3 separate regions of the Homo sapiens genome follow, and all the other regions are linked to region 2. The links are contacts of gene promoters, found by promoter capture Hi-C in human tissues and cell types (Jung and others, 2019). All regions are on one chromosome and are shown on one strand. Each heading gives the region's core, a stretch centred on a gene start or on the middle of the fragment in contact. The rest is flanking DNA. Distances are from core to core; before and after follow the strand shown.

Region 1 (3,056 bases), core at 400-2,899, 440 kb before region 2:
CCTTTGGTATCCTCTGGAATATTTTGGGAAAGAACTGGATTTCCTGCAGTCATGTAGGAGCGGGGCTTTGTCAAAGAAGGAAGATTTTAAAGGGAAGGGTGATTCCTGACTCTGTAGGACTTGGGTCCTTATAACCCACATAGGCAAGTACAGCACAAAGGGCATAGGGGCTGGATATATAGCATTCTGGTGATCATAGGCCATTTTGATCTCCACACTGTTCCTCTAGAAACTTCTTATCACTTTAGGAGAACAACCAATGGTAATCCAAACTCTAAGAAGGCTATCTGAGCCACTTAAAGTTCTGTTCTCCCAAAGTTTCTGGTCGCATTATTTTCAAAGCCAATTTTCAGCTGGGCAGAATCTTTACTAGGAATCCAACTATTTGTGAACCCCATGCTGCTGCTTCTTGGCAGACAGCAAAAGTGTATTTTTTTTTTCCAGGAGTATGGTGGTATTTACTTTGTTTTAAAAATATTCTTGTTGGGGGTTCTGGCAAGATGGTCGAATAGGAACAGCTCCAGTCTGCAGCTCCCAGTGAGACCTATGCAGAAGGCGGGTGATTTCTGCATTTCCAACTGAGATATCCTGTTTATCTCATTGCGACTGGTTAGACAGTGGGTGCAGCCCATGGAGGGCGAGCATAAGCAAGGTGGGGCATCACCTTACCCGGGAAGTGCAAGGAGCAGGAGGCCTCCCTTTCCCAGCCAAGGGAAGCCATGAGGGACTGTGCTATCCCACCCAGATACTATGCTTTTCCCATAGCTTTTGCAATCCGCAAACCAGGAGATTCCATGGTGAGCCTACACCACCAGGGCCCTGGGTTTCAAGCACAAAACTGGGCGGCTGTTCGGGCAGACACCGAGCCAGCTGCAGAAATTTTTTTTTCATCCCCTGGTGGCGCCTGGAACCCCAGAGAGTCAGAACCGTTCACTTACCTGGAAAGGAGGCTGAAGCCAGGGAGCCAAGTAGTCTCGCTCAGCAGGTCCCACTCCCATGGAGCCCAGCAAGCTATGAATCACTGGCTTGAAATTCCTGCTGCCAGCACAGCAGGAATTGACCTGGGATGTTGACCTGGGATGATTGAGCTAGCAGAAGACAAGAAAAAAGTAACATCAGAGTGGAACTGAAGGAGACAGAGACACAAAAAACTTTTCAAATAATCTGAATCCAGGGGCTTTTTTTTTTTTTGAAAAAATTAAGGAAATAGACTGCTAGCTAGACTAATAAAGAAGAAAAGAGAATATCAAATAAACACAATAAAAAATGATACAGAGTTTCATTTGCATCCTTGTGAAGAGACCACCAAACAGGCTTTGTGTGAGCAACAAGGCTGTTTCACCTGGGTGCAGGCGGGCTGAGTCCGAAAAGAGTCAGCCAAGGGAGATAGGGGTGGGGCTGTTTTACAAGATTTGGGTAGGTAAAGGAAAATTACAGTCAAAGGGGGGTTGTTCTCTGGTGGGCAGGGGTGGGGGTCACAAGGTGCTCAGTGGGGGAGCTTTTTGAGCCAGGATGAGCCAGGAGAAGGAATTTCACAAGGTAGTGTCACCAGTTAAGGTAAGGACTGGCCATTTTAACTTCTTTTGTGGTGGAATGTCATCAGTTAAGGCAGGAACAGGCCATTTAAATATCACTTCTTTTGTGATTCTTCAGTTACTTTAGGCTATCTGGATGTATACGTGCAGGTCATAGGGGATATGATGGCTTAGCTTGGGTTCAGAGGCCTGACATTCCTCTCTTCTTATATTAATAAGGAAAATAAAACATAATAGTGTTGAAGTGTTGGGGCGGTGAAAATTTTTGGGGGTGGTATGGAGAGATAATGGACGATGTCTGTCGGGGCTGCTTCGAGCGGGATTAGGGGTGGCGTGGGAACCTAGAGTGTGAGAGATTAAGCTGAAGGAAGATTTTGTGGTAAGGGGTGATATTGTGGGGTTGTTAGAAGAAACATTTGTCGTGTAGAATTATTGGTGATGGCCTGGATACGGTTTTGCATGAATTGAAAAATTAAATGGAATAAGAGAAGGAGAAAAACAGGTATTAAAGGACTAAGAATTGGGAGGACCTAGGACGTCTAATTAGAGAGTGCCTAAGGGGGTTCAGCATAATTACTTGCTTGGTTGGCAAGTTTTTGGGCTCTATCCTTGAGTTTTTTTATGTTGTCATACACCAGGCCAGATTGATTTAGGTAAAAACAACACTCTTCATTTAAGAATATACAGTCTTCCTTTTTCAGTAGTGAGTAAGTCAAGGCCTCAGCGGTTTTGGAGGACAACTGCAGCTAAAGAGTCAACTTAGGCCTGGAGGACTGATAAAGTTTGTGATATGTCTGTGATGCTAGCAGAGAAGTCATTAGAGACGCTACAGAAGGTCATGACAGAGGTTGAAATGCCTGTTATTGCAGTACCGAGAGCAATAGGGGAGGCAGAAAGTCCTAAACCGACAAGCAAGGGAATTAGTGGAATAACTCTTTTTTGTCATGTTGGTGTCATGAGGGGAACAGGGAACTCTTTGGTTCTATTTGCAAATTGAATTTTGGGGGTAAGGAAAACTAGTGTGCATGTGCCTGTCCAATTAGCAGGTAGACACATGTAGGTAGAGGATCCACAGAGGAAGAAGAGACCTTGTGTGAGGCAAAACTGGAGACGCAAAGTAAAAAGATGAGAAGGAGGGCTGAAAGGGGTGTCTTTTACCTAGACTCCTAGGGATCGAGCTAGGGCGGCAGCCATCAGAGGTTGTAATGGGGACTAATGGGGTAACAGCGTAGAGGGGAAGGTTTGATTTTCATGGTGTAGGAGAAAACGTTGAGTGTCTATGAGCAAACTTTTACTGTTATTTACGGGGCTGGGTATAAGCAAACAAGAAGAGGGCCTGGGAGGAGAGTCTGACGAGCAAGGGGAAGGTAGCCAAGAATGGAGTGAAATACTGGGTAAGTGTCTTCCTAAGCAATAATTACTGCTAATGTTTTTAAGTTTGCCAGTATTGATAGAGGGCTTGTCTGTAATACAGAGCTAGAAGGCTCCAGTTGTTTCAGTGATGTGCGTAGTTGGGCTTTG
Region 2 (3,106 bases), core at 345-2,844:
GGAGAGGGGGGCCCAGGAGGAGAATGGAAAGCCCTCCCCAACCAAGAAGGGGAGCCCTAAAGGGGCCCCTCCCTAGCCCCTAGAGCAGGTGGGAAGGGGCAGCTCCCAGGGGTTTCTGGAGGTAGGAACAGAGAGGTAAAGGCAGGCAGGAGTGATGTTGAAGACCAGCCTAGGTGACTTTTTTTTTTTTTTTTTTGAGACGTAGTCTTGCTCTGTCACCGAGGCTGGAGTGCAGTGGCACGATCTTGGCTCACTGCAACCTCTGCCTCCTGGGTTCCAGTGATTCTCCTGCCTCAGCTTCCCAAGTAGCTGGGACTATAGGCGCGTGCCACATGCCTGGCTAATTTTTGTATTTTTAGTAGAGATGGGGTTTCACCATATTGGCCAGGCTGGTCTGGAACTCCTGACCTCGTGACCCACCCACCTTGGCCTCCCAGACTGCTGGGATTACAGGCTTGAGCCACCCCGCCCAGACCTCTAGGTGGCTCTTTAAGGGAGAGGCAATATATTAATAGTACAGTGCCCCCATAGGCTTCGTAGAGAATGTTGGTTCTAAGGGAGGGAATAGGCTTAGGGCCACCCTGCCCCTGCCCTGTGCTTCCTGGCTGGGGGATGGTGAGGAGGTCACTTAATCTCCCTTTGCCTCAGTTCCCTAATTATTAATGCTAGACTAGTCACAGGGCTGCCGTGAGGGTTAAAAGAGCCTAATGTTGGTGGCTAGAAGTTGAGGTCTTAGACTGAAGTCTCTGCTGAGGAAAAGACCAGAAGAACAGATAGGCTCTCAGGTGAGACTGGACATTTTGCTTTGTTTTGATTTGTTTTGTTTGGCTTGTCTGTATTTCCCATGTTTTATGCAGGAAACACACATTATTATATAATTAAAATAATATTCAGAGTGAAAATAAAACAGCAGGGACTACATTTGGTCCCCAGGGGGAAGCGGCTGATCAGGAGAGAAGCCTGTCCATTGAGGGTGGGATGGAAGGGGGCAGTTCACCTGTGTCAGAGACACAGACACGGAGGTCCTGGCTGCCCCAGGGGCCCAGGAGATGGCAGCCCTGCGTCCTCAGGGATAGATGAAAGTGACATTTTCTGTCTGGGTGTGCCCTAACACTTCCTGAGAGGCAAATCCCCTTCCCCTACTCGGGAGGTGCCAGGCAGGGGAGGTAGCACACAGGAGAATGCTGCCTGCTTACGGGCACCAGTGCCTTTCCCATTGGTTGTCCTCAGCATCAAGTCCTCTGAACATCAGTTGAGAGGGACCTTGAACCCTCAGAGGTCAGGCCAGATTCCTTCCCAGAATCTCCCCTCGGTGAGCCTGCCAGGGCTGCTCGCGTTGGGCGGATGTACAAAACGGAGGCACGTCTCAGACTTCCCATTTGGGCCCGTGGTGTCCAGCCAGCAGCCCTGCTAGGCTCAGCCACGCTGCCCCACCCCCAGCGGCCCTCGCTGAGGCAGCCCTTTGAGGAGAGCTGGGCTTGGTGGGTCCACAGCACTCTCCCTGCCAGTGACGTTAATCCGCAAAAGAAAGTCAAACATTAGCCCGGGAAACAGCTTATGCCTTATATAAGCCCCCCTGGGGGAGGCACAAACACAGCTTGTTAGAGCTGAGCTGCCCTACTACAGCAGCTGCCGGCCCCTAGGACAGAGCAGGGACCTCAACTACACTGATCACCAGCCCCATCGGATCCAGACCCGGCCACCAGGTGAGGAGGGATGGAGGGCCTCCCCAGCCCAGGCACCTAGGAATCCCAGGGATCTCCCAAGGCCAGGCTCCACTTGCGACTAGCCAAGCCCCTAGTGCCCTCTGAGACCTGCTTCGGGCTCTTACAGATACTCCAGCATGGTGGGCCCAGCCCCAGGGAACTGCCAGAAGCCAGGAGGCTCTGAGCTTGGGGAGGCCTTTCCCAGCAGACAACCTGAACTCTGCTAACCCTGTGTATCTGCCTGGAGCAACTGGGGACATTCACCACCCACCCTCTAATCTGTCCTTTGTAGCCAACATCCAAGGCTGGGCCCCTTGGTCCCTGCTACGTGTCCTGCACTGCTCCATGCATGCAGCATGTGCAACCAGCCTAGCTGAGCACACACATGCTCGTGTCCGCAGGTGCACACGCTCACAACACATACCCGAGCTCACGCAGCTGTGTCCTTATGCTGCAGCCTAAATGAGCACATACCCATAGATACCTTTGTGTCCACACACCTGGACACACACTTCCACCTTTGATCCCACAGCCCTCCGTGCAGCTGGGCTCTTCCTCAGACATCCACACAAGAATCTGCGGCTCCACATGCCTGAGCTTCCACATCTTTACACACTTACACATGCTCTGCTCCACACACCTGTGCTCGCATATCCACCTGGTTCACCCTCCCACATATCGTTCCATAGACCCACGCACTACCAGGCACAAATATACCTCTCCCTGGCCTATGCCCTGCCCACAGCTCTGGCTCGTCTTGCCCCAGTGCCATGACCTTCTCGGAGATCCTGGACCGTGTGGGAAGCATGGGCCATTTCCAGTTCCTGCATGTAGCCATACTGGGCCTCCCGATCCTCAACATGGCCAACCACAACCTGCTGCAGATCTTCACAGCCGCCACCCCTGTCCACCACTGTCGCCCGCCCCACAATGCCTCCACAGGGCCTTGGGTGCTCCCCATGGGCCCAAATGGGAAGCCTGAGAGGTGCCTCCGTTTTGTACATCCGCCCAATGCCAGCCTGCCCAATGACACCCAGAGGGCCATGGAGCCATGCCTGGATGGCTGGGTCTACAACAGCACCAAGGACTCCATTGTGACAGAGGTATGCCTGGGCAAACCCTCTCCCTCCACTTACCCACGTACCCCCATACCCTGCACCGCTGGTGGGCAGCAGAGGAGGCTGGGGTCTGGTGTTCCCAGGAACTGAGGACAGGTCACTGGGCAGGCAAAGAGGAAGGACCTGAGTGCAGAAGCTCATGCACCAAGACCCTTGGCTTCTTCCCACTCAGAGTCCAAGCAGTGCTTCAACAAACTGCTACTGAGGGCCTGTTCTGTGACGGGCACAGAGCTAAGCTCTGGGAATACAAAAATGCACCATGCCTGCTCCCAGGGGGTCTAC
Region 3 (3,030 bases), core at 434-2,933, 420 kb before region 2:
AGATGTGTTTAATCAATACCAAGTTTATTGAGTGTTTTTAGCATGAAGGGGTGTTGAATTTTATTGAAGGCCTTTTCTGCATCTATTGAGATAATCATGTGGTTTTTGTCATTGGTTTTGTTTATATGATGGATTACATTTATTGATTTGTGTATGTTGAAGCAGCCTTGCACCCCAGGTATGAAGCCAACTTGATCATGGTGGATAAGTTTTTTAATGTGCTGCTGGATTCTGTTTGCCAGTATTTTATTGAGGATTTTCACATGGATGTTCATCAAGAATATTGGCCTGAAATTTTTTTGTGTGTGTGTCTCTGCCAGGCTTTGGTATCAGGATGATGTTGGCCTCATAAAATGAATTAGGGAGGACTCCCTCTTTTTCTTTTGATTGGAATAGTTTCAGAAGGAGTGGTACAAGCTCCTCCTTGTACCTCTGGTAGAATTCAGCTGTGAATCCATCTGGTCCTGGACTTTTTTTGGTTGGTAGGCTATTAATTATTGCCTCAATTTCAGAGGCTGTTATTGATCTATTCAGGGATTCAAATTCTTCCTGGTTTAGTCTTGGGAGGGTGTATGTGTCAAGGAATTTATCCATTTCTTCTAGATTTTCTAGTTTATCTGTGTAGAGGTGTTTATAGTATTCTCTGATGATAGTTTGTATTTCTGTGGGATCGGTGGTGATATCTCCTTTATAATTTTTTACTGCATCTATTTGAGTCTTCTCTCTTTTCTTCTTTATTAGTTTTGCTCGTAGTCTATCAATTTTGTTGATCTTTTCAAAAAACCAGCTCCTGGATTCATTGATTCTTTGAAGGGTTTTTTGTGTCTCTATCTCCTTCAGTTCTGCTCTGATCTTAGTTATTTCTTGCCTTCTGCTAGCTTTTGAATGTGTTTGCTCTTGCTTCTCTAGTTCTTTTAATTGTGATGTTAGGGTGTCAATTTTAGATCTTTCCTTCTTTTTCTTGTGCACATTTAATGTTATAAATTTCCCTCTACACACTGCTTTAAATGTGTCCCAGAGATTCTGGTATGTTGTGTCTTTGTTCTCGTTGGTTTCAAAGAACATCTTTATTTCTGCCTTCATTTCGTTATGTACCCAGTAGTCATTCAGGAGCAGGTTGTTCAGTTTCCATGTAGTTGAGTGGTTTTGCGTGAATTTATTAATCCTGAGTTCTAGTTTGATTGCACTGTGGTCTGAGAAAGAGTTTGTTATAATTTCTGCTCTTTTACATTTGCTGAGGAGTGTTTTAGTTCCAACTATGCGGTCAGTTTTGGAATAAGTGTGATGTGGTGCTGAGAAGAATGTATTTTCTGTTGATTTGGGGTGGAGGGTTCTGTAGATGTCTATTAGGTCTGCTTGGTGCAGAGCTGAGTTCAATTCCTGAATATCCTTGTTAACTATCTGTCTCATTGATCTGTCTAATGTTGATAGTGGGGTGTTGAAGTCTCCCATTAGTATTGTGTGGGACTCTAAGTCTCTTTGTAAGTCTCTAAGGACTTGCTTTATGAATCTGGGTGCTCCTGTATTGGGTGCATATATATTTAGGATAGTTAGCTCTTCTTGTTGAATTGATCCCTTTACCATTATGTAATGGCCTTCTTTGTCTCTTTGATCTTTGTTGGTTTAAAGTCTGTTTTATCAGAGACTAGGATTGCAACCCCTGCCTTTTTTTGTTTTCCATTTGCTTGGTAGATCTTCCTCCATTCCTTTATTTTGAGCCTGTGTGTGTCTCTGCATGTGAGATGGGTCTCCTGAGTACAGCACACTGATGGGTCTTGAATTTTTATCCAATTTGCCACTCTGTGTCTTTTAATTGGAGCATTTAGCCCACTTACATTTAAAGTTAATATTGTTGTGTGTGAATTTGATCCTGTCATTATGATGTTAGCTGGTTATTTTGCTTGTTAGTTGATGCAGCTTCTTCCTGGCATTGATGGTCTTTACATTTTGGCATGTTTTTGCAGTGGCTGGTACCGATTGTTCCTTTCCATGTTTAGTGCTTCCATCAGGAGCTCTTTTAGGGCAGGCCTGGTAGTGACAAAATCTCTCAGCATTTGCTTGTCTGTAAAGTATTTTATTTCTCCTTCACTTATGAAGCTTAGTTTGGCTGGATATGCAATTCTGGGTTGAAAATTCTTTTCTTTAAGAATGTTGAATATTTGCCCCCACTCTCTTCTGGCTTGTAGAGTTTCTGTTGAGAGATCCACTGTTACTCTGATGGGCTTCCCTTTGATGGTAACCCAACCTTTCTCTCTGGCTGCCCTTAACATTTTTTCCTTCATTTTAACTTTGTTGAATCTGAAAATTATGTGTCTTGGAGTTGCTGTTCTCAAGGAGTATCTTTGTGGTGTTCTCTGTATTTCCTGAATTTGAATGTTGGCCTGCCTTGCTAGGTTGGGCAAGTTCCCCTGGATAATATCCTGCAGAGTGTTTTCCAACTTGGTTCCATTCTCCTTGTCACTTTCAGGTACACCAATCAGATGTAGATTTGGTCTTTTCACATAGTCCCATATTTCTTGGAGGCTTTGTTCATTTCTTTTTACTCTTTTTTCTCTAAACTCCTTTTCTCACTTCATTTCATTCGTTTGATCTTCAATCACTGATACCCTTTCTTCCAGTTGATCGAATCAGTTACTGAAGCTTGCACATTCATCACATAGTTCTTGAGCCATGGTTTTCAGCTCCGTCAGGTCGTTTAGGGACTTCTCTATGCTGGTTATTCAGTCAGCCATTCACCTAATCTTTTTTCAAGGTTTTTATCTTGTTTGCAATGGGATCAAACTTCCCCCTTTAGCTCGGAGAAGGTTGATCATCTGAAGCTTTCTTCTCTCAACTTGTCAAAGTCACTCTCCATCCAGCTTTGTTCTGTTGCTGGCAAGGAGCTGCCTTCCTTTGGAGGGGGAGAGGTGCTCTGATTTTTAGAGTTTCCAGTTTTTCTGCTCTGTCTTTTCCCCATCTTTGTGGCTTTATCTACTTTTGGTCTTTGATGATGGTGACATACAGATGGGGTTTTGGTGTGGATGTCCTTTC

What was found. The method cuts DNA at HindIII sites, captures the fragments that hold promoters and counts their contacts. A contact is called where the count stands out against the background at its distance.
Region 1: a fragment that was not itself captured here is called in contact with the fragment with the promoter of SLC22A8 in region 2 in 2 of the 25 tissues and cell types used here (liver and mesendoderm cells).
Region 3: a contact is called between a fragment that was not itself captured here and the fragment with the promoter of SLC22A8 in region 2, in 1 of the 25 tissues and cell types used here (H1 embryonic stem cells).

What each region holds. Positions count from the first base shown.
Region 1 is chr11:63,457,731-63,460,786 of GRCh38, reverse strand. No RefSeq gene overlaps it. Among named protein-coding and RNA genes, the nearest start is that of PLAAT5, 32 kb to the left of the region's middle. RefSeq lists an enhancer at 1-275. The HindIII fragment of the contact is 5,176 bases long and covers 1-3,056 here.
Region 2 is chr11:63,014,329-63,017,434 of GRCh38, reverse strand. It overlaps SLC22A8 (solute carrier family 22 member 8), which reads left to right and starts at 1,594. Exons shown (of 11, transcript NM_004254.4): 1 at 1,594-1,706; 2 at 2,452-2,809. The coding sequence starts at 2,477. RefSeq lists enhancers at 1-44, 1,735-2,589. The HindIII fragment of the contact is 24,341 bases long and covers 1-3,106 here.
Region 3 is chr11:63,431,258-63,434,287 of GRCh38, reverse strand. No RefSeq gene overlaps it. Among named protein-coding and RNA genes, the nearest start is that of PLAAT5, 58 kb to the left of the region's middle. The HindIII fragment of the contact is 4,042 bases long and covers 1-3,030 here.